4 separate regions of the Homo sapiens genome follow, and all the other regions are linked to region 2. The links are contacts of gene promoters, found by promoter capture Hi-C in blood cells and fetal thymus (Javierre and others, 2016). All regions are on one chromosome and are shown on one strand. The core of a region is centred on a gene start or on the middle of the fragment in contact, and the rest is flanking DNA. Distances in the headings are between cores, read along the strand shown.

What was found. Contacts are between HindIII fragments. The CHiCAGO score rates a contact against its expected background, and 5 or more counts as called.
Region 1: a contact is called between a fragment that was not itself captured here and the fragment with the promoter of C1orf174 in region 2, in 1 of 17 cell types (total CD4 T cells). The highest score is 6.2, in total CD4 T cells.
Region 3: a contact is called between a fragment that was not itself captured here and the fragment with the promoter of C1orf174 in region 2, in 2 of 17 cell types (naive CD8 T cells and activated CD4 T cells). The highest score is 5.3, in naive CD8 T cells.
Region 4: a contact is called between a fragment that was not itself captured here and the fragment with the promoter of C1orf174 in region 2, in 3 of 17 cell types (naive CD4 T cells, endothelial precursors and naive CD8 T cells). The highest score is 8.7, in naive CD4 T cells.

What each region holds. Positions count from the first base shown.
Region 1 is chr1:5,904,494-5,910,473 of GRCh38, forward strand. NPHP4 (nephrocystin 4) reads right to left here. Exons shown (of 30, transcript NM_015102.5): 12 at 4,659-4,720; 13 at 2,622-2,729; 14 at 1,139-1,290; 15 at 799-990; 16 at 124-311. Among named protein-coding and RNA genes, the nearest start is that of MIR4689, 45 kb to the left of the region's middle. RefSeq lists an enhancer at 4,220-4,745. The HindIII fragment of the contact is 187 bases long and covers 1,701-1,887 here.
Region 2 is chr1:3,897,485-3,903,006 of GRCh38, forward strand. It overlaps C1orf174 (chromosome 1 open reading frame 174), which reads right to left and starts at 2,788. Exons shown (of 4, transcript NM_207356.3): 1 at 2,688-2,788. The coding sequence starts at 2,702. LINC01134 (long intergenic non-protein coding RNA 1134) reads left to right here and starts at 2,920. Exons shown (of 4, transcript NR_024455.1): 1 at 2,920-3,147. RefSeq lists enhancers at 1,880-2,450, 2,451-3,019, 3,020-3,589, 3,229-3,488 and silencers at 2,539-2,608, 3,689-3,868. The HindIII fragment of the contact is 4,148 bases long and covers 1,488-5,522 here.
Region 3 is chr1:5,996,720-6,002,422 of GRCh38, forward strand. It overlaps a transcript of KCNAB2 not described here. Among named protein-coding and RNA genes, the nearest start is that of NPHP4, 7.1 kb to the left of the region's middle. RefSeq lists enhancers at 2,552-3,266, 3,267-3,981. The HindIII fragment of the contact is 3,824 bases long and covers 1,581-5,404 here.
Region 4 is chr1:5,979,665-5,985,309 of GRCh38, forward strand. All of the region lies in intron 2 of NPHP4 (nephrocystin 4), which reads right to left. Among named protein-coding and RNA genes, the nearest start is that of NPHP4, 9.9 kb to the right of the region's middle. The HindIII fragment of the contact is 489 bases long and covers 1,437-1,925 here.

The DNA of each region.
Region 1 (5,980 bases), core at 544-3,043, 2.0 Mb after region 2:
TATGATTCTAATGTTGCATATGTTTTAAACTTTTCATAGTACCACTTATTTAATAACACTGACAATTTACACACACAACTCAGTACAGAATGTCTTGCCTTTGCCATGCACATGAGTACTCACCAGCATCAAAGGTGCCATCTCTGCTCACAGGCACGAGGATGTGGGTCAGGGCGCCAGAGCTGGGCTGGCCGGCCTCATCCAGCTGGACCAGCTGCAGTCGTGGCGTCGTTGCGGGTGGGAAGCGGTAGAACTGGAAGGTGAAATACACAGTCTTTGGCCATGATGTTCCTCGGCAGTCCTGGGCCACTCTGAATCCAACAACAGCTCTGGGTTAACTGAGTATCCATGGCACAGAACCTGAGGGGTCTAATGTGTGTTTGCATAGGGGATGGTCCAGGCACCTTAGTCGCTGGGGAACAGTAAAGAGGCTGCCGTGGTCACCAATGCAACCGCTTTGCTGTGCTCTCAGCAAGCCGGCCAGACAGCAGCATTCTCGAGTGTAAGGACACTCCCGGCTAGAGAAGCTGCCTTTGGAGCTACACTAAGATCTAAGACCTGGACAACCCACCGTCCACATTTTAATGAAGGACCACAAAAGATGGGGTAAAGCAGCTTTCACAGCATTTAGCATGCTGTGGGTGGGTCCTAGCCAAGAGAAGATAAAAACAGATGGCACTCCCGAATCTACTAAGACCTCAGCACAGACAGTTCTGCCAGGTCAGAACCTCAGCGAAGTTTCTCTTCAACACAGGAAATGTGAAAGCCAGATGAGTAACAGAATATTCAAGGATTTACCTGCTAAAGGCAAGAAACTGTAGCACCATCTCGTTGCTTTGTAGACAATCTGATTCTTCCTTCTGAGGGTTAAACGTCACAGGTTCTGTAGCGCTGACAGCCTCGGCTGGCTGTTTATTGGCATCCAGAATCTCGGGAAAGCCGGAGGACTGCAGGAGCACCATGGAGGCTCTCGAGGGCTGCCCTGCAGAGCTGAGACACAGAGACTCCTCAGGTAGCCTCCCGGGAAAGGGGGGACCCATTGATGCACCTCCCTGTGGAAACCCTGGGGTTCACAAGGTCCAACAGTCTGACGGCACAGCACGTGACTGGTTCCATCCCACCCAGACCCACACCTCACCTCCTGGTCTGGGTTCCCACAACAATAGGGGCATGCAAAGGCGTGAACGGCAGCTCCTGTAACTGTTCGGCAATGGATGTTTCCAGGACCAGGGAGGTCTGGCTCAGGTCGGCTTCCAGGTGGGAGATACCGGCCTCCAACGGGAACTCCTGCTGAACAAAACGAGGGCTTCCAAGTGAGGCCACCAAGGACCCCAACCCGTAACAACCAACGGTGCTCAGATCTAAGGGGATTCATCGATTAATTGCCTCTGGAGGGTTGCCAGCTCTAGCAAATACAAAAGGTTCAATTACACTTGAATTTCAGGTAAACAACAAATGATTTTAGTATAAGTATGGTCCCTACGATATTTGGGATATACTTACACTAAAAAATTATTTGTTGTGTACCTGAGGTTCAAATTTAACTGGGCATCCTATATTTCACGTGGCAATCCAATGTGTGAGTTGAGAAGCGGTGAGGAGGGAATCCTAATTTTATGAGCAGGTCAGGACCGTGGGAGATACCTGACACCTGAGATGGTAAATTCATATCAAAGCATGTTTATAGAACAGAAAGATGAAGCTTCCTCAATACTCCAAGATAAACTGTGGCACCGAGCCCCTGGCTGGCGTGTTTGGACAGTCTCTTGTCCCCACAGCCCCTGAAACTTCTTGTCATTCACTCGTATTCCACCTCCACTCCCCTCCAAGGCCGAGGCAGGCCTCTCAGAGAGGAGCTGGCTTGGGAGTTGGGAATGTGCTCTCTCAAGCTTCATTCCCAAGCTTTCTGTTTCAGCCCAGAGGAAACCAGGTCACCCTCACACCATGTCTCATGCGCCAATAATAAAAAGCTAGGCAAGCTCTTCACAAACACATGAGCCCCAGAGATGCTTTAGATAAAGCAGCAGAGACTCATGGTGCTAGGAGTGTTTTCAAACAAGGAATTAAAAGAAACTATTTTTCCTCAACATAATTCCAGTTAAGACCAAAGATGCAGTTTGCAGGTGAACCAGCCGACTTTGGAAACCAAACTCCATAGGAATTCCCCAAGGCCAGTGGCAATGCCAGTCTTAGCCAGGAGCACACCCTGAAGCCAGGATGGCGGGCTCCACTCACCTCCTTTAGCTGCTGATAGCAAGGAGGGTCCTGGGGTGCTGGGTGCCTGTCTCAGCCTGTCTATAGATATAGCCACACCTTCCTTTTACTTTCACGTAGAGACCTAGGGGTAGCTTAACTTTGTTTTCATGGGTAGAGCACAATCTGAGTCAAGCGCTGTGGTATGAAGAACTCATGGGCCACATTCTTCTTTGGTCTCCAAGACAGAATGGTGACAACTGTCTGAGGCCTCAGAGTAAGCAATGCCCCACTCCCACCCACATCCCAGGTAACCCGCCAAGGTCTCTGCCACCTAACTAAGGACAGGCACAGTGCAAAAACCCAAAATGAGGAGCTGTGGAGCCATTCCTTGGTGGAAGGCAAGGCGGCAGGTGGGCGGCACTTACTGCCTGGGCCGGGGAGGCCTGAGAGCCATGGGGTAGCTGTGAAGTAGGCCTGGCCAAGCAGTGCTGAGTCGGGGACCGCGGGGAGGCCGCCAGCTGGGAAATTGACAACTGGAAGGAAAGAGAGCACAGGTGAGGGGCTCAGAAGCTTGCCAGTCCGTCCACAAAGCTCCCAACATGCACTGGCCACACCGGGGAACGGGGTAGCCCTGGATCCAGCCACGGAAGGGAGTGATGCCTGCAGCCTCCTGGCCAGGGCAGCTCTGGAACCTGGGACCGCTTCTCAAGTTCCTTTATTTAATGACAGAGAGGTGATTCCATGATCTCCCCCAGATCATAATATCTGAATAAGAATATTATTAACAAGGAAAACAAGCAAGAAAGGAGAAAGCATCTCAAGCTACAGGGGCGGCCTGGCCTCTGCCTCTCTGTCCCTTGCCAGCACTGGACTGAGCACCTCCAAGGCCCTGCCAGTTCTAGCCGCCTGCGTTCCTATCGAACAAACCTCCCTGTTAAGGCAATGACCATCTTGATGGCCAGCGCGGGCTCTGGAGACAGCTGTGGATAGAGTGCCCGTGCCAACGTGGCATTACCGTGGAGTGCCCGCACCAATGTGGCATTACTGTGTAGCCTCAGGCAAGTCAGCTAACCTCTTTTTGCCTCAGTCTCCTCACCTGTAAAATGGGGGTAATAATAGTACCTAAACTGCAGGACTGTTAGGAGAATTAAATGACAATCCTGGCTAGGGTTTGGCATAGTACCTGGCACACGGTGAGCCTTCTATAAATACTGCAGATATTTGGAAATGAGTGCGGCTTAAAACACTGATGCGGAGGGCTGGGGGCCCACGCACTACTGAAGACACAGATCTCAAACCCGGACTCTAACTCCAGTACACACAGCCAGCACCTGAGACATTCACTGTCAGCAATGATGGCTGGCCCACACCAGGTGCTGGCAGAGAGGCCCCAATGTATGAAGAGGCACTGAGGAATGAATGGGGGGCGGGGTGCATGAAGCATCCCCAGGGGACCCTGGCAGCATCTTCAGGGAGCAGAGGAGATCTTTGGGGCCTACCCAGCTTCCCTCAGACCCTATACGGTATCGTGACCACTCGGGGTCACGTGGAAACTGCTCCAGGGAAAATGCCAGGTTGGGCCAGCAGGGAAGCCTGGGAGGCCGTCCACAGACTTGCGCCTTTAGGTGAATCCAGTATTCTTCACTCCTGATCCAGTTTCCCACTGCAGATGACACACTAAAGCTGCTTCCTTGGAGACAGCCATGGATACTGAATTAGTCAACTTTTCTAGAAAGTCAATTTCCAGGATGATGCTGGCAGACAAAGTCATCAGCAGGAACAAGCCACATCTGACCTCACTGCAAATCACATAGCTAAGGCCAGCCTTGGAGCCACAGGTGAGCGCCACGGGTGTCTCGGGACTCCAGAACGGCAGCCAAGCAGGAGCTCAGCTCAGACCGCTGGCGGGCAACGGCCCAGCGGGAAGGCGCCTCTCCTCCCACTCAGGAAGTTCCAGCGCCACGGGGATCTGTGCGGTCGGACGTGCAACTGCCAGCAGCTTGTGGTTCTCAGCAGTGCCACTGTCTCCACCAGCATCGGCTGCTTGGCCGACAGGGCCAGGGGACACCAATAGCTGCCAGGCACCGCTACTGGTGGAGTTAGTCTGGGAGAGCAAAGAGGGTGAGGACCACACCTCGATGTCTCTCAGAAAAAGCAAAGGCCGTCCAGTCCTGAGAGTTGCCACCATGAGATGCAGCTGCCAGGGAGATGTGGAGACGCCCCATACAGCAGCATAGGGGTTGCAAGCAGCAGCCCCACTAAAAGCCCGCACTGGGAGTCAGAACATCAGGGACAGGCTGCACAGACAGGGTAGGAGGGGACAGCCCCGCCGCCGCCAGCAGGCCCTCCCCAGCCACGCAGAAGCACGCAGGGATCCACTGTGCTTAAGGGGGGACAGAGGGTTTTCTTGCAAGTAATTGACTCTGGAATTCTGAAGGAGGCCGTGGGGGGCCTGGACTTACCCCTGGTCCCACAGGTGAGTTCTGCGGGGCAGCGAGAACTCGAGGTACTGGCGCTGGCGGGCCTGGGAGGAAGCACAGTGGGGTAGGAGAGGGAATGTGTCAGCCTGTGTTGGGGGCAGTGGGCCCCTGAACCCCCACGCAGTCAGGTCTCCACAGGCCTCACCACCTTGTCTGTAACAGGGGCAGCCGCTGGTTACCGTTCAGGGGCAACAGCAGCAAGGGTGCCACCCAAAAGTGTCGCTGTCTATCTAGAGCCCTGGCATGCACCAGCAGCCAGGAGAGGGGGTACAGCTGGCCTCGTCCTCACTGTTCTTCCTGGGCCAGCAGGTCTCACAGCTTGGGGTGCTTGGAGCTCCCTAACACGCTTCTCCTCACTAGTCATCTTTGCATCTTCCCTGCCCGGAAGAGCTGGGGTCTGAGGTTGCCCCAGTCTTGCAGCTCCCTGACTCCGGCTGTTTTGTTAACCGAGAAGCTCCTGAGCAGACACTGCCAACCTGGCTTGCGGCCTCACGAACACCCACTAAGCACAAGCTGTCCGCCAGGTCCTGCTGAGGATTCTCCATGCAGGCCCGGTAACACTGGGAGGCGCACCTGGGGGAGGCAAGGCCAGCCCTTCATGGGGTCCCCCTGGAGCCAGGGACTGAGAACTGCCTTGGCCCTTTATAAGGCCACAGCTGCCTCCCAAGCATCCAGGGGCTGCCTAAAGAGCCAGCAGCCTCCTCCCAGGGCCACCTGTACCTGCCCAGCCCCGCCTCAGCCCAGCTGGCATTTGTGCTGCTTCTGCAACCCCTCCCCAGGCCACATGGACACCTCATGGCCCAGCAGACCCAGGGCTCTCAGCCCCTGCACCTCAGCAGGAGGAAGCCCCAGCATCGCTGGAGTCTCTGAAACCCACCAGGCTCCTGCCACAGCGGTGCTGGAGCGTCCATAGCCACTCGTCTCTTACGGTCATTTCACATACACTGCCATTTGCCTTTGCCCACCATGAAACCACCAAGCCAGACCCCAAGCCCATCCTGACGGGGCCACCTCTGCCCACTCAGAGGCCAGGGTGGGAGCCCTGCACACTGAGTCATCTGCCTGGCTTCCCTGAGGCCCACAGCCCAGTCTCCAGCCCATGTCCTGTCCCCACCTGGCTCATGACAGCCTCCTTCACGGTGACAGGACTCTCCACTGCAGCAGACACTACCACTCCCCATCGGACTTCCAGGATAACCCAGACCTCCGGAGAAATCAGGCTTCCCCCATGGCCCTGTCCCACCTCCCGTCACCCCCATGTGGCCCACATCTTGGGCCCAGCAGCTCGCCTTCCCTCCCTCTCC
Region 2 (5,522 bases), core at 1,538-4,037:
AAAAAAAGAACGAAGAAAAATAAAGCAAGCTGCAGAGAAATGCTGGACATCATTAAGTGCACTAACATACACAAAATAAGAACCACCAGGAATGCAGAGAGAAAGGAGCAGAAAAAATATTTGAAGAAATAATGGCTGAGAACTTCTCAAATTTACAGAAAAACATTAACCTATATATCCAGGAATCTTTTTTTTTTGAGACGGAGTCTCACTCTATCGCCCAGGCTGGAGTACAGTGGCATAATCTTGGCTCACTGCAAGCTCCGCCCCCCAGGTTCATGCCATTCTCCCGCCTCAGCCTCCCAAGTAGCTGGAACTACAGGCGCCCGCCACCACGCCCCGCTAATTTTTTGTATTTTTAGTAGAGATAGGGTTTCACTGTGTTAGCCAGGATGGTATCAATCTCCTGACCTTGTGATCCGCCTGCCTCAGCCTCCCAAAGTGCTGGGATTACAGGCGTGAGCCACCGTGCCTGGCCCCATATCCAGGAATCTTAATGAACAGAACTCCAAATAGGATACATGCAAAGAGATCCACAGACACATCACTGTAAAAATACAAAGATCAAAGGCAAAATCTTGAAAGAGAACAAAACCTTGAAAGCCCCAAGAAGAAAGCCACTTAGAAGGGAACCTCAATAAATGAACTGACTGAAACAATGGAGAATATTCAAACATATTCAACATGCTCAAATAAACTTGTCAACCAAGAATCCTATATCCAGCAAAGCTATACTTCAAAAATGGGCTGGGCATGGTGGCTCATGCCTGTAATCCCACCACTTTGGGAGGCTGAGGCAGTGATCACCTGAGGTCAGGAGTTTTAGACCAGCCTCGCCAACATGGTGAAAACCTGTCTCCAGTAAAAACACAAAAATTAGCCGGGCGTAGTGGCAGCCTCCTGTAATCCCAGCCATTCCAGAGGCTGAGGTGAGAATCACTTGAACCCGGGAGGCAGAGGTTGCAGTGGGCCGAGATCACACCTCTGCACTCCAGCCTGGGCAACAGAGTGAGACTCTGGTCTCAAAGCAAAAACAACAACAACAACAACAACAACAACAACAACAACAAAACTCACTTTACAAGAAACACTAAAAGAAGTTCATCAGGCTGAAAGCAAGTGACCCCAGACAGTAATTCAAAACCACACACACACAAAAACAGCACCAGTAAAGGTAATTATGTTCTTATATAGTTTAAATGCCTATTCCTCTACCTCCTTCTCTTAATTTAAAAAGCAATTGTATACAGTAATATGTGTATAATATATACAGACATGTACTATATTTGCCAATAACAAAACAAAGTGGGTGAAAGCAAACCCCTGCTGGCTAAGGAAATGACCACAGACAGAAAGTAATAATGATAACACAGTACTGTTGAGTTTGTAACATTATCAGATGTAATACATATAACAAAATACCACAAAAATAACCATATAAGAGTAACATTTCTGTATCACTTGGAATTAACCTAGTACAAATCTGAAGCTTAAGATGTATATGGAGAATATGAAGATTAAGCTGTATACGGTAAAACATAAAGCACTGGAAAAAACCCAAAAAAGTTGTGGAAAAAAAATCATTAAATTAAAATGCTACATTAGGAAATATTCACTTTAATCCACTTAAAGAAGGAACAGGGGAAGAAAAAGACAGACTTGTATAAAGAAAAGAAAAAGTAAAATGGCAAATGTAAACCTAACTACAGTGTATCAATAATATTAAATGTGCATGGGCTAAACAATTCAATCAAAAGGCAGAAACTACCAGACTGCATTTTAAAAAAGATCCAAGTATATGTGCCTACAGGAGACAAGTTTTGGTTCAAAGATAAAAATAGTAAAAGGAGTTGGAATTCACAAGTGGCCACTCCATTTGAACAAACCAGGAGAGCCTCCATGCAGCTCAGAGCCTCCCAAGTGGACCGGGACCCGCGCCGGGTCCACTGTGAAAAGGGTCCTTCGCCTTAACTGTTACACCCACGCAATGAGCACTTGCCCCTTGCCAGACACTGGCACCCCCCTTCAATCCTCACCACCCTCTTGGTGGATCCCTCATCACCCCACTTTTAGCACATTCAGTAGATGGGGCCAAGCTGAGGTCACTTGCTGTGTGACGTCCATTGGAGTGGCAGCAGTTGAGGGGCACAAACTCAGCTCTGCAGCATCTAGCACTACCAGGAGTTGAAACCAGTTCTGGAGAGGGTGCCCCACCTTCCTAGGAAAGTGGCCCGAAACCTCCCTTCAAGGGGGCGTGACCTGGGAGCCCCCTGTTGCCCAGGACGTGAACTGTGAGCTCCACTTCTCCCGAGGGCGTGGACCGGAGCCCCCCTTCTCCCGCGGGCATGGCCTGGGAGCTCCCCTTCTCTCGGGGGTGTGGCCCAGAGGCCCCATTCTGCGGGGGTGGGTAACCTGGGAGCCCCCTTCTCCCGGGGACGTGACCTGTGAGCTCCACTTCTTCCGAGGGCGTGGCCCGGAGCCCCCTTTTCACAGGGGCGTGACCTGGCAGCCCTCCTTCTCCCGGGAGCGTGGCCTGGAGCCCCCCAACTACTGCCGGGGGCGAGGCCCAAGCGGAGGCCGCTCCTAGGCCACAGGCACCCCGTGACCCCGCCCCGGTTCTCCAGACAGCAGGTGACCCAGAGTCCCCGCCCTGCCCGGCGCAGCTGCTGCCGGGACCCAGCCCTCACCTTCCGGCTCCTCATGAGTGTGAGCACCGCAGCCAAGCACCGCGCGCCCCGGCCAACGCGTCCCGGCGGAGCGGCGACCCGGAGTCTGCAGAGCGCGCCGCGGCGGCGTCCGACGTCAGCACAGCCAATCACAGTGCAGCACCCTCGTCATGTGATTCCCCCCCCCCCCCCCCCCGTGTTGGCTCTTTCGTAAGCGGCGGGCGAAGGTCACAGGCCTTGGGCCAGTGGTGGGACACTGGAGCAGGAAGTCGGCCTGTGGCCGGCCATGTTCATGAGGGCGCGTCCCTTGGCACCCCTGTAGCCGCTATGTTTCCCACGCCCGTGGCAGGCCTGAGAGATTATGTTTGCGGGGGGTGCTTTTTTTGTAGCTTCTGTGTTCGCCATATTTGAAAGGGGCAGACGGCCATGTTCGTGAACGGCGCTTCCCTTGGTGCACCTGTGGCCGCCATGTTTGAGCGAGGTGGGCAACTATGTTCTTGAGGGGGGAGCAACCATGTTCTTGAGGGGCTCTTCCCTTGAAGCCTCTTTGGCCACCATGTTTGAGAGGGGCAGACGGCCATGTTTGTAAGGGGCGCTTCTCTTGGTGCGCCTGTGGCCGCTATGTTTGAGAGGGGCAGGCAACCATGTTCGTGAGGGGCGCTTCCCTTGAAGCCTCTTTGGCGCCATGTATGAGAGGGGCGGACGGCCATGTTTGTGAGGGGCTCTTCCTTTGGTGCGCCTGTGGCCGCCATGTTTGAGAGGGGCGGGCGGGACGTCCGTGAGGGGCCCCTCCCCTTGCATCCCCTGGCTAACAGCCTGCAGGAGGGCGGGAAGTGCTTTCTCCAGTGCCGCAGAGCGCTGGTTTCTGAGTGCCGGTTAGCGGCCTTGAGCAGCGCGAGGGACTCCCAGGCCTGCCCGTGCTGCGGTCCCGCTGGGGAGCTTTGCGCGCTTGTCGCAGGCTGTGCTGCCCCGCGACATGCCGCTTTGGGTTGGGGTGGCCCGCCCGGGAAGTGGCCTCAGCTGTCCCCCACGTTGCGGGCGGGAGGGGGCCTTAGTGGAGGCCGTCGGTGGGCCCAGGAGGCCAGGGTCCGGCGTCGGGCTGGGGGCCGGTTTTCGTCCCCCGTTACGTGCAAGGCGGGAAATGACCCCTCCGCCGTCCCGTTACTCTCCGGGGCCAACGTGGACTCGCAGGGGCCACGCCTTTTCCAATGGCCACGCCCCTAGCAGGCCTGGGTGGACCCGCAGCGGCCACGCCTCCTCCAATGGCCGCGCCCTATCAGGTCTGGATGGACACACGGCGGCCACGCCTCCTCCAGCAAACACGCCCCTAGCAGGCCTGGGCTGCTGTGATGCGTCCTCTTTGGCCGCCGCTGAGGGAGGTGTTTGTAAAGCTGAGGACCACTGTTCTGTTGTGGGTTTTTTTGTTTGTTTGTTTGTTTTTTGAGACGGAGTCTCGCTCTGTCACCCAGGCTGGAGTGCAGTGGCGCGATCTCAGCTCACTGCAACCTCCGCCTCATGGGCTCAAGCCATTCTCCTGCCTCAGCCTCCTGAGTAGCTGGGATTACAGGCAGGCGCCACCACACCTGGCTAATTTTTGTATTTTTAGTAGAGATGGGGTTTCATCATGTTGGTCAGGCTGGTCTCGAACTCCTGACCTCAAATAATCCGCCCACCTTGGCCTCCCAAAGTGCTGGGATTACAGGCGTGAGCCACCGTGCCAGGCCCACTGTTCTTTTCTTTTCTTTTTTTTTTTTGACGGGAGTCTCGCTATGTCGCCCAGGCTGGAGTGGAGTGACGCAATCTCGGCTCACTGCAAGCTCTGCCTCCCGGGTTCACGCCATTCTCCTGCCTCAGCCTCCCGAGTAGCTGGGACTACAGGCTCCCGCCACCACACCCGGCTAATTTTTTTGTATTTTTAGTAGAGACGGGGTTTCACCGTGTTAGCTAGGATGATCTCGATCTCCTGACCTCGTGGTCCGCCTGCTGCGGCCTCCCAAAATGCTGGGATTACAGGCGTGAGCCACCGCGCTCGGCACACTGTTCTGTTCTTAAGAATTTCAACATAGAAATGAAATCCAGCCTTGCCTTAAACCCTCCAGCCCTCAAGTTCTCTGGGCTCTAGGATGTGTGTCTTCAGAAAAGGGCGCAGGGTGGAAGCCACATCAGAGGCCGAGGACACCTGGCCCCTCCCCTCTCCGCCCGCAGGTGGCTGCGCAGTCCAGGGCTGGCTCCCAGGTGCTCGGGCGCAGGGTGCACCCAGCAGCCCGTACTGTGCTTTGCAAATAAATGGGAGTCTTATTTCCTTTTTAAATCATTATTTTTTTTTTCAAGTGAGAACATTTAAATCAGGCAGTTTTGTCAGAAGCATTAGGTTTTCCACTTAAACTACAAAGGTTGAAAAGTGAACTGCATTGCATTGTGGCTTCATGGCCTGCTCAGGGTCCCTCTGTGCACTGTTCCAAGGCAGGGTGTGATTCATAATCTCTTCCAAAAGCATCAGTGTGCCTTCTCTTACGGTATGACTCTCTCAAAGCCCAGACATGCAGCTGATGCCTCCTTTTAGTGCCTGAGAAGGGAGAGTATTTAAGGATCCTGCCAGCTTGAGCTCTATGCAGCCTCCACTCTCTTTAGAAGTGTGACGTTTGGTAATTAGGTGGAGCCCTCAAATTAGACTGCACGTGGGGTTTTGCTTTCGGCAGTGAGTGAAGATGCTTGCAGCCCTGGTGTACACACACACACACATGTCCTACCTGGCTGTTGTACCCTCTCTCTTCCTAGCCCTGCGCTTCTCCCGTGTTATTATCCATGTTGTACAGAAGGGGAGGAGACAAATGTGTAACTGGCAGGAAATGCGTT
Region 3 (5,703 bases), core at 2,243-4,742, 2.1 Mb after region 2:
TCCTGGCCGTCCGCCTTTACCTGGACCCAGTGAGAAGGCTTTCCTGGCTGTGATCTTGAGCCCTGACTGCCGAGCAGCCGAGATCTATCATCCAACTCCATGGCTGGGAGCTGGGCACAGGTTTCTTCTCAGACCCCGCACCAGATTCAACCCATTCCACGTGGGCCAGTTTTCTGGAGCAACTTCCTGGGTCCTGTAGACCCCTGAGGTCTGGTCCGCAGGGGTCCTGAGTCACCAGCCTGGGCTGTTTCCCTGCCAGAGACTTAGCTCTCTGAGTCTCTGGCTCTCTGGCCTGCTAAGCCACACGGATCATTCGTGTCTCCCTCTATCTGAATGGGTGAACTGGTGCCTCAATGGTAGGAGCCTGGGGCTTCCCTGGCACACAGTGGGTGCTGGATAACTGTCAGTTCCCCCTCTTCCAGTCGGACGAGGCGCCCCAGCCACCATCCTGCCTGGAGCTCAGGTGGTTCCTGGGCAGCCCAACGGAGCCCCCAGGAAAACCGGAGCAGAGGAACCTGGCTTTCCTTCTGCGTGGTTTCCTGGGACCTCTTGGCAGTCTCTCAGCTGGAGAGCCCTGCTGAGTGATTTCACAGTGGAGAAGGATGGAGGGAAGGAAGGGGAAGAGAGGGCAGGAGGGGAGAGCCCGTTGCCCTGGTCTGCAGGGAATAGCCTCCCTCTGAGGGAGGGACACTCCTTGCCCTATTCTCCCTGACCTTGGGCCTCGTGGAGGGCCTGCAAGCCTGCCAGACCCCCACTGCACACCTGCCCACCTGTCTGTCTGATTCCAGCAGCCCCTGGGCACCGAGTGGGTTGCAGAGCCATGCTCTGAGCATGCTCCCCCTCCTTCACCATGAATGTGTTTTCATTTTCCACCCCCGGGCAGCTTCATGATCTTTCATTGCAATCTCAGGCCCTGGTATCCACAGGCTCTCAATGCAGCCTAGGACAGAAGACTCTAGAATTCTGCCTCGGAGCCCTGTGATCCCAAACACTCAGCCGTGGCAGGGGCTCTCTGAAAGTGATATTCTTGCCACCCCTCCCAGATGCAGGAGGGTAAGGAATAACTAGAATGCATGGGCAAGGAGATTCAGCTCGATCTATTCATTATAAAACAAATTTAAATTTAAAACATTGCTTAAAACCTATACATGCCAGTGAAGGGCGAAGGTCTTAGCAGCAGACATTTGAAGGACCAAGAATGAGCAAGACCCACCTCCCTCCTCTAGGGCTGAGACCCAGGAAAGGGATGCAGTGACCACATGCCTGGAATGGTCAGAGAAAACCCTGCTGATAGGGAAGGAGAGACGGGGGCAGTGGGGACATTTGACCTGGACCTTGAAAGACAGGCAGGTTGTGATAGGCAGAGCTAGGAAAGGATGGTCTGGAAAAGGGCTCTGCATGGGCAAGGTCACAGAGGGAGGACCAGGCAGGCTGGATGATGGCCAGAGGCCCAGTGCGGTCACAGGCTAGGGCATGAATATGGGTGAATAGGATAACTAGGGGAGGGCATCAGGGCCAAGGCCACCATGGGCTGGACAGTGATGGGGAGGGAGGGAAGAGGAGAGCCCTGGAGCCCCCCAAGCTTTTCTGGCTGGGTCCACCTGGGCTGCACAGACTGAAAGAGGCAGAGCCAGAATCGGGGCCTCTGGATGGGGAGGACTGGGCTCGGTTGACCTTGGGTTTCGAGGTCTGTGTCTTGGACAGCAGTGCCCACTGACATTGAGAAGGTAGGGCTGGGGTTCACAGGAGAGGTGGGACCTGGAGGTGACTGCCACCTACCTACTGGTCACAGCCCTGACAGTGTCACCTGGGGGTAGTGCCAAGGGTCGCCAAGGGTACGGGTTTGAGAGGGAAGATGAAGGTCAAGACAGACAGTAGGGAACCCTGGATTCTTCCAGAGCCCGGGGAGGAGAGGAAAATAGAGGATGAGGCAGGTATCTGCTGCATCCGGTGGGCCAGCTGCTGCCAAGGAGGCAGCCTCTGTTGAGAGGGGAAGCAGAGCTGGGCTCCCAGGAGCAGCGAGGGGGCGCAGGACCCCAGATTCAGCACCACCAGCTTCCAAGCACTCGCCAACCAACTTATACCCATCTGACTGAGGCAGAAACACTGAAAGTCAAAGTGGCTTCCCTAAGGCCTCCAAGCTACTAGGCGCAGGAGCCAGGACCCCAAGCCAGAGTCCCACCCTGGTGACCTTTGGACTTTGCCGCCAATGGCTCTGGAGAGATTTGACCGTGAAAGGAGGAAAAGGAAGGTGAGGGCACAGGGTGGCTCCGGGGCTGGCGGGCGTAGACGAAGCCGCTTTGCTGCTTAACCGCAACTGCCAGCAGCACCCTCTTTCGTCCGCCCCTTTAGAGACGATTTCAACGGCGCATTCTTCCATTTCCTGCCTTAATGGGGGGCATTTCTGGGGACACCCGTGAACTGCGGGCTGGGGCTTAGCCTTGTTGGTTGCCCTGCATAGGTTGGCTGCGTAGTGCTTTACGTTCTGTGTAAGAATTGTGGAGTCTTGGGGCCTGGGTGGGCCGAGGGTCCTGAGATATCGGTGTGCCCAGCAGGCTTGTAGGGTGTGGCACCTGCCCAGCCCTCAGGGGTCCTGGTGCAGCTTAGCAAGCTCCTTGGCCACCAGTCCCTGGTGACTCAGATCAGGGGTTCCAAGAACATGCTTTGAGAAACACTCCCTAGCCCTAGCCGTTTCAGTCTGTCAGTGAACCTGCCCACCTCTACTTCTTAAGGAAGCACACGAGGAAGCTGTTTGTGATGGTTGAAAGCTCCGGCGAGAAGGGCTTTGCGGGGGTTTCTGTAATTCTTGGGAACATGTGAAGCCCACATTCTACTGGAATGACCTGCTGCACTTTTGTGAGCTTCAAATCTGAGATGTGCTTTCATCCTCCCGTGTGTGGCAGGGCGCCTTGTTAGTGTCCAGGCCTCTTGGAATGTGGTTTGGTTCAGGGGTACTGATGGCCCGAGTGCTTGCCCACGGCAGAGGAGGCCAGGGGTCAGTACAGGAGCCAGTCCTCGCCACCCTGTTCCTGACCATACAGAGTCTGTCACCTGCCTGTGCCCTGATTGTACCCCATCTGCACCGTGTCTGCACCCTGCCTGCGCCCTGTCTGTACCCCATGTGCGCCCCATCCGTACCCTGCCTGCGCCATCTGCGCCCTCTCCGCACCCTGTCTGTGTCGTCTGTGCCCTGTCTGTGCCCCGTCCGCATCCCGCCTGCGCCCTGTCTGTGCCCCGTCCGCACCCTGCCTGCACCCCATCCATATCCTGCTCTGCTGTCTGCACCCTCTCTGCACCCTGTCTGCGCCGTCCGTGCCCCGTCTGCACCTTGTCTGTGCCCCGTCCACACCCTGCCTGCACTCTGTCTGTGCCCCATCTGGGCCCTCTGCACGCCCTACCTGTGCCCTGTCTGTCTAGATAGATCCTGCAGCGCCTCCCGCCTCTGCTCAGCCAGCCCCCCGCACCCCCTAGAGGGTATTGCCTTTCCATGGAAATGAGTAGCAGGTATTTTTAGTCACCCAGACCAGGAGGTATTCAGGTGTCACAGACACAAGGCCCGGAGCCATGTTGTCCCTTTGCTCCTACAAAGGAAACAGGATGCCCAAAACAGGACTTGTAAATCCCAACTCAAAACCTCCCCGTTCCGCAGGGACACAGGGTGCTTTGCTCCTTGAAGGAGTAGTGGATGCCTCCTTATTTACATCCTTCGTGCTTACAAGGCAGTGGGGGTGTCCAGGGGACATCAGCCACCCTGTGCTGGGGCACTTCAGAGGCTCCGGGGAGCTGCCATGCTCTCTCTCCATCCCAAAAGATGGGTCTGGGGAGGCCACTGGGGCAGGCGAGCCCGCTCCTGTGAGGAGTGAACCCCACCCCCCGCCGCTCTGCTGGTGTGAGTGACAGTTATCAACAGACCCTGAATGGGGGCTTCCCAGAAAAGAAAAAAAAAAAAAAGAAAACAGTGATATCCCTGGGAGAAAGGGGCCTGTTTACATGAAGCCTATAGGCCGTTGGAATCTGAAGTAGCACCTGGGGGTCCTGGTGACGCCAGCACAGACAGCCCTCTCCAGGGCAGTGCTACAGTGAGACCAGGGTCTGGGGAATGTCACTTGCTCCTCATTAACTCATGAATCGGGAGCCAGGATAAGGTCGCTGCCCTCAGGGCCAACATCAGAGCGGGAGGAGGTGTATGGTCCAGGGCACCAAGGCGTCACTCAGGCCACCACCAAAGCATCACACCAAAGCATTGACAGCGTCCATCTCACATCGTCAGGAAAGGGGGAAGCACTGGATGGCTGTGGCCTCACAGGCAGGGAGAGTGGGGTCCAAAGGCGCAGAGACAGCATGGGGTGTCAGGGCACTGCAGGGAGAGGGACAAGGGCAGGTAAGGAGGGACCTTGGAGGCCGGAACATCTTTCACGGAGGCCTCCTGCTTCCTCTGTGCTGCTGAGCTGGGCCATTCATCTGGCCTGGGTGGAGGGAAGCTGAACAGGGTCCCTCTGCGACCTGGAGGCCCCAGGCCCTACCCTGAGCCCTTGGTGCTCTTGGAGCCCTGAGCTGCTCCAGCTGCATGTGATCACCACACACACACACACACACACACACACACACACACTCTCCCAACACACACACAGACACACAGAGCCTGTGCCACCAGCCCTCATTCTCTGCCTCACCCAGGGCCGGAAGGTTCTGGCTAAGCCTCCGGGGGTGCCACTGGGAGGGATGCCTAGGAGAGGGTCTCCCCAACCCTCTAGCAACCTGATAATCATGATCACCGGTTGTTGGAGTGGCCTGGCCACCTGCTGGGCTGTATGGGTGCTGAGGGCCTGGCTGAGCCCCGTGATACACCCATGGGGGTGGGTCTCTGAAGAGCAGTCTGTGTGAGCAGCAGGAGAGGTGGCACCTCAGGTCAGGGGACGCTTCCCCCCAGGCTCTGGAGGGGACAGGATAACACCTGTCCCCAGGCTTGGCGGAATTCCTGGTCTCTAACGCAGCCCGGAACACACAGAGAAATGATCCAGTGTGGGGCAGTGTTGCTCACATGGTGGTAGGACTGGGTCCTAGGCTCCTGGAGCCAGCGGCCTCAGAAAGCCCCTCTAGGTTCTCTGAGTCTTTGACACTGTGCAGCCCAGACTCCTCATTTTATAGACAGGGAAACTGAGGCCAGATGACTCATCCTTGACAGAGCCGGGATCATGGTGCAGCTCTCTGACTGAGCCCCCTCGATGTCCTGTAGTCTCTCCAAGCATGCCCTGCAGTGGTCATGACTGCTGACATCTGTCCCTGCCTAGACTGTGGGCCTCGTGAGGACAGAACATGCCTGCTGTCCCCATCACCTCTGTCCCCCAGCTCAGCCTGACTGGTAATGCCCCGGCCATGTCATGAGGCCTTGGAACCAAGCCTAAGCTTCCTACAGGCCAGCAAACATCGTCCCCAGCACTGGCTCCCTGATTTCATCTCCCCTGGCCGTGGCAGGCAGAGAGAAGCCTTCAGAACCAGGGAGGACCAGAGGGCTCCTGGCCCAACGGAGGCCAACTGTGACACCAAGGGATCCTCCCCAAGGGGTCTTCCCCGCCAGATACAATCCTGCTCTGAGCACCCTGAACAACAGGCAGTGCCCAAGGGAGGCCAGAGACAGCCGTGGCCTCTGGGGCCTGGCACTCAGCCAGAGCTGGCAGGAGGCGGGGATGCACCTCCTGCAGC
Region 4 (5,645 bases), core at 431-2,930, 2.1 Mb after region 2:
GGTGCACTCCACCACACCCGGCTAATTTTTGTACTTTTTGTAGAGAGTGGGTTTTGCCAGGCTGGTCTTGATCTCCTGTCCTCAAGTGACCCGCCCGTCTCGGCCTCCCAAAGTGCTGGGGTTACAGGGGTAAGCCACCATGCCCGGCCTGTATTTTCTAATTTTCTGTATTACTGATGCTCTGGCATCTGGGGCCTCAGTGACGAGATAAGACTGTCCCCCAGAGCCGGTTAATTCCTAGGGTGGCAAATGGCAGGCCTATCAGAATGTGTCTGACATGAAAACCAACCCGTCCAGAGACCACATGCCCCACTACCTCTGTCTGGCTCACACACCCCAGGAGTCCCACCCTCTGCCATGGTCTCTCAGGGTCAGTGACCAGACACCTCGGGCCATCCCTGCACCTCAGAGACCACGACATGACTCTCCTTGGCCAACGCAAGCCCGTCCAGCTGCCCACCCTCCCTGGCCCAGTCCTCCCACAAAACCATAATCAAGTCTCTGCCCATGCCTCCCTTCCACCCTCCTGCCTCCTGACCAACCCTGCGCTTCCCCAGGTGGCCTGTGGGACATGGCCTACCCCTCGTCTTGGGAGCCCTGAGTAACAGACAGGGTCTCAGCTGAGTTGTCTCCTGATCCGCTGGCCTCACCACCCCTAAATGGAAACCAGTCCCAGGTACATTCTAAGCAGAAAGCCCACCGGACTGCAGCAGGCTGGGCCAGGGAGGAGAGAAGGAATGAGCGCCAGGCGCAAGAGCGTTCAGGCAGGCCTCACGGCGCGAGGAGAAGCTGGGTTCTCACTCCAATCATGCAGGGAGGCCAGGGAGAGATTCTAAGCAGAAATGACACAATCTGGTTCGGGATTTAAGAAAATTCCCGCAGCTGCCATGTGGGGGCGGGAGTGGAAGCAGGGGCCAATTAGGAGGAGGCGAGACAGGGAGGGGCAGGGAGGGTGACAGGAAGCAGGCACCGCTGGGCTCTGCTGCTTTGCAGGAGTGGCTGCGTGGTCATGAAGGGAGAAAAGTGGGAAGGGCCAGCTGCCTAGGTCGGCCCAGCCCTCCCAGGCCCAGTACTGAATCTCGCATCTCAAGTGAAGCAACGTGGAGGGAGGTGGTGTTATCCATGAGGACAGGGAAGGTGGGCAGAGCAGGTCTGAAGACTCCAAGCCCAGCTCCCATCACCACGCACCGGGGCCTGGCCCCCAGCTCCCATTACCACGCTACCTCCCTGTCCTCCTCCCTCTTCCCCTCAGTCTCTCTTCCTCCTCAGCTCCTCCCGCATCCAGACCTGCCCTCTGAGCCTGCCTCATCTCTCCCCAGAGCAACCCCCTGGCTTTTCCATGTTGACTGTCTGCTGCCCCCATCTACAACGTGAGCTCTCTGAGGACACAAGCCTGAAATAGTCTGTTCCCTGCTCTGTCCCTGGGGCCTAGGCAAAGCTTCTGCACGTGCCCCTCCTCACCCGGGACTGCCTGGGTTCCCCCAGCACCGCCACCTCCTCCTCCTCCTCTCCTGCACTCTCAGGAGGCCATTCTCAGGCAGGATCCCGTGGCTCCCAGAACCGTCGCTGGCTTGGGCTTCTTTCCAGAATGCCAGATCCTAACCACCCTCCCACCACCTCTATGCTACTTCACATCCAGTCTATTCAAATAAGAATCCACTGAGAGCTTCCTGAAGACACAGTATAGGGCAGAGTCAACTCTGTGTCATCTGCACGGTTCCTAACATATCGTGGTGCCCAATACATATCAAGCTGAACTGAAATACTCATCCCAAAATAAAGAAATATAAGCAATGATCATGGTAAAATTAAACAAAAAAAGTAAATGGGACAGTAAAAGAAATATACTAAAATCATTAATAAAGTGCCCTGAATTCAAAACAAGCATGTAATATTCTTCAGCCAACACCTTTCACAGGGAAGCAAGCTTTGGCCATTATCTAAAGCTATCAATTCTCAAAACAACTAAAATTATACAAACTTATAAGACTATCTATACCAAACCATCATCTATTTCCAAACTCTATTTATAGAATTTATATGAATTCTATTTATCTTCTTTTAAATACTGTATTTTGATTGATCTTTGTAAATAAAACAACGTTGCATTCCTGCAGTAAGCCCCACTTGATCCTAATACCCCATCTTTTATACATATTGCTGGCTTTGCTGTCTTAATATTTTCAGGGCTGCTGTGTTAATATTCATGAGGGATACAAGTCTGTACTTTTTTTTGTAGTGCCCTTGACTGGGTATCAGAATTATGGTGGCCTCAAAAAATGAGCTGGGAAGTGTTCCCTCCTCCTCTATTTTCTGAGTTTGTCTAGAATTCGTCTTATTTCTTCCTTTAGTATCTGATAAAATTCAACATTGTATTTTTAACCTCTGTAGCGTACGTTATCATGATGCTTCTTTCATTTTAATACTGGTAGTCTGTGTTTTCTTTTTTTTTTGTCTTGATCAATTTTATCAATCTTTTCAGAGAATCAACTTCTGGCTTTGCTGATTTTCTCTATTATTTGTCCTTTATTGATTTCTGCTCATATACAGTCATGTGTAACATAATGACATTTCGATCAGCAACAGACTGTATATATGACTGGCCCCTTAAGATTGTAATATTATATTTTTACTGTTTTTTCTATGTTTGATATACCGTTGTGTTACAATTGCCAATGGTATTCAGTACAGTAATGTGCCATACAGGTTTGTAGCCTAGAAGCAACAGGCTATACCATGGAGCCTAGGTGTGAGGCAGGCTCTACCCTCTAGGTTTACGTAAGTACATCCTATGATGTTTGCACAATGACAAAATCACCTAACACCATTTCTCAGAATGTGTCGGCACTGTCAAGGAACCATGCATAACTGTATTTACCATTTCCTTCCTTCTAGTTACTTTGTATCTAATTTGTTCCTTTATTTAGGTTTGTATCTAATTTGTTCCTTTATTTAGGTTGTTAAGGAGGAAACAGACGTCACTGATTTTATACCTTCTTCTTTTCTAATATAGTCATGTAAAGCTATACATTTCCCTCAAAGAACTGTATTAGTTATATCCTATAAATCTGTATATTTTCTTCCATTACTCAGTTCAAATTATTTTCTAATTTCCCTATTAATTCTTCTTTGATCCAGTATGTTAATTTCCTATTTGAGGATTTTCTAGATCTCATATTATTTATTTCTAACTTAAAAGCACAGTAGTCGATAAACATACTCTATAATTTGGGTCCTTTGAAGCTTATTGGGACATTTTAATGGCCCAGCATACGGTCTATCTTGGTGACTGTTCCATATGAACTTGGGAAGAACGTGTTCTCTAGCTTTGTTGGGAGTGGTGTTTAAGAGATGACAGGGTGATTGATGGTACACTTGGGAAGAATGTGTACTCTAGCTTTCTTGGGAGTAGCGTTAAGAGATGACAAGGTGATTGACGGTATTCTTCAGAGCTTCCAAATCCCTATGAGTGTTCTGATCTATCTGTTTTTTCAATAATTGAGAGAAGAAGAGTTAAAAGTCTCCAACCATGATTATGAATCTGAATATAGTTCCCTTTAGTTCTGTCCAATTTTGCTCTTTTGTACAAAAGAGTTATCAGAACAGACCTTACTGTTATGCTTTGAAAGACCAGCTTAGAAGTCTGCCCTTTTGCTGGAGTCTGGGAACTTAGATTTCAAGAGAGTTCCTACCACCTAACTGGTAAGAGGAGCTCACTGTGCCTAAACTGTTTATGTACTGTGGCTTATGCTAAACACGTGTTTCCCTTCTGAGAGTCTGGAATTTTGGACATGCTACACAACATTTCACGTGTGTTGTTACAATTCATTGCTGGAGGAATCAAACGCATCCTGTGTGACTCAACTGAGAGAGGACTCTTGGAAGCTTGTACCCTCTTCCCTCAGACATCCCCCATATGCCTCCTCCCTTTGCTGATCTTGCTCTGTATCCTTCTGCTGGATCAACCTTAGCTGAGAGTATGACTACATGCTGAGTCATGTGAGTCCTCTTAGAGACTCTTCAAACCTGGGAGGTGGTCTTGGAGGCCCCTAACACAAGTGCATACACATTTAGAGATTGTTACGTTTCCTTGATGATCACTGTCTTTATGAGGTGCCCCTTTATTTCTGGGAATACTCTTCACCTTGAAATCTACTTTTTCTGATACTAGTATAGATGCAAAGCTTTCTTTGCTTAGTATGTACATGGTTTATATTTTTCCACCCTTCTACCTGCAACCTGTTTACGTCTTTATGCTTAGAGTGCACTTTTTTGTAAACAACATGTAATTGGGTTTTAAATAACTTTTAACATACGACTTTGGATCAGGAATTCCACTTCTAGGAATTATTCTACAGACATATCTGTACATGAAAAAAATGAGGTTATTCACTGTAGCAGTGCCTATAATAGCAAATGACTGGGAAAAGTCTAAATGTTCATCAATCACGGCCTCACTCAATAAATGATGGCTCATTCATATAAAGAAACACCTTGCGGTCTTAAGAACAATAAAATTTTCTTCATGTAATAACATGAATGATCGATAAGACATACTGCCTGAATTTTTTTGAAAAGCAAGGTACAGTGCCGGGCATGTGGCTACACCTGTAATCCCAGCACTTTGGGAGGTAGAGGCGGGCAGATCACCTGAGCTCAGGAGTTTGAAACCAGCCTGGCCAACATGGTGAAACCCCGACTCTACCAAAAATACAAAAACTTAGCCGGGCATGGTGGCGCACATCTGTGGTCCCAGCTACTTGGGAGGCTGAGGAAGGAGGATCACTTGAGCTCAGGGGGAGGAGGTTTACAGTGAGCTGAGATCACACCACTGCACTACAGCCTGGGTGACAGAGTGAGACTTCATCTCAAAAAAAAAGAAAGAATGGTACAGAACGGAATACAGGAAGTACCATTTGCATTTTAAAAAGGAAAAATAAATGTAGGTATATTTACTTGTATTTGCTTAGAATTTAAGAAAGTTGTACGAAAACACACTGTATCTAGGGTGATACACCAGGTGCCTGGGGATGCCATGGGATGATTCACTTTTCCTCTGCATCCTTGTCAACTTTGAACTACGTGCATTACCTTTTCACAAATAAAAATAAAATGAAATGGGGAAATAAAATTTCCTTTGCAAAACTCCTAGGAAAGAGGGAAGGGCTATCAACTATCCTGTGAGCTTCTGGAAGGCGGCTGAGCCAGACCAGGAGGGTGGCATCCCAGCTAAAGCCGTCGCCCTGGGCAGCTGGCTTCACTCTTAATTAGCAGGTGCTGCTGCTCGTCTATAAAACGGGAGTAAGGTGGTGGCAGCCTCATAGAGCTGCTCTGAGGATTAAGTGAATGAACACAGTGAAGTGCTAGAAGTAAAGCTACAAAAGCAGCAGCCACCACAGTACCTACCACAGTGGCAAAGACACAGCAGGTGCTCAATCCAAGGGCTTGGAATTGAACGATATAGAACATCAGTGATTTAATAATAGTAAATTAGTCACAGACCCGGGGCTCCAACAACTGAATATATGTGAATATCACTCTCCCAGCTGCAGAGGAAAACGGCCTTGCCAAGCCAAATCCTGTAAAAAGGGTTGACAATGGCAAGACTGATCCTTCTCACGCATTCCCACCGGCCACTGGGCCTC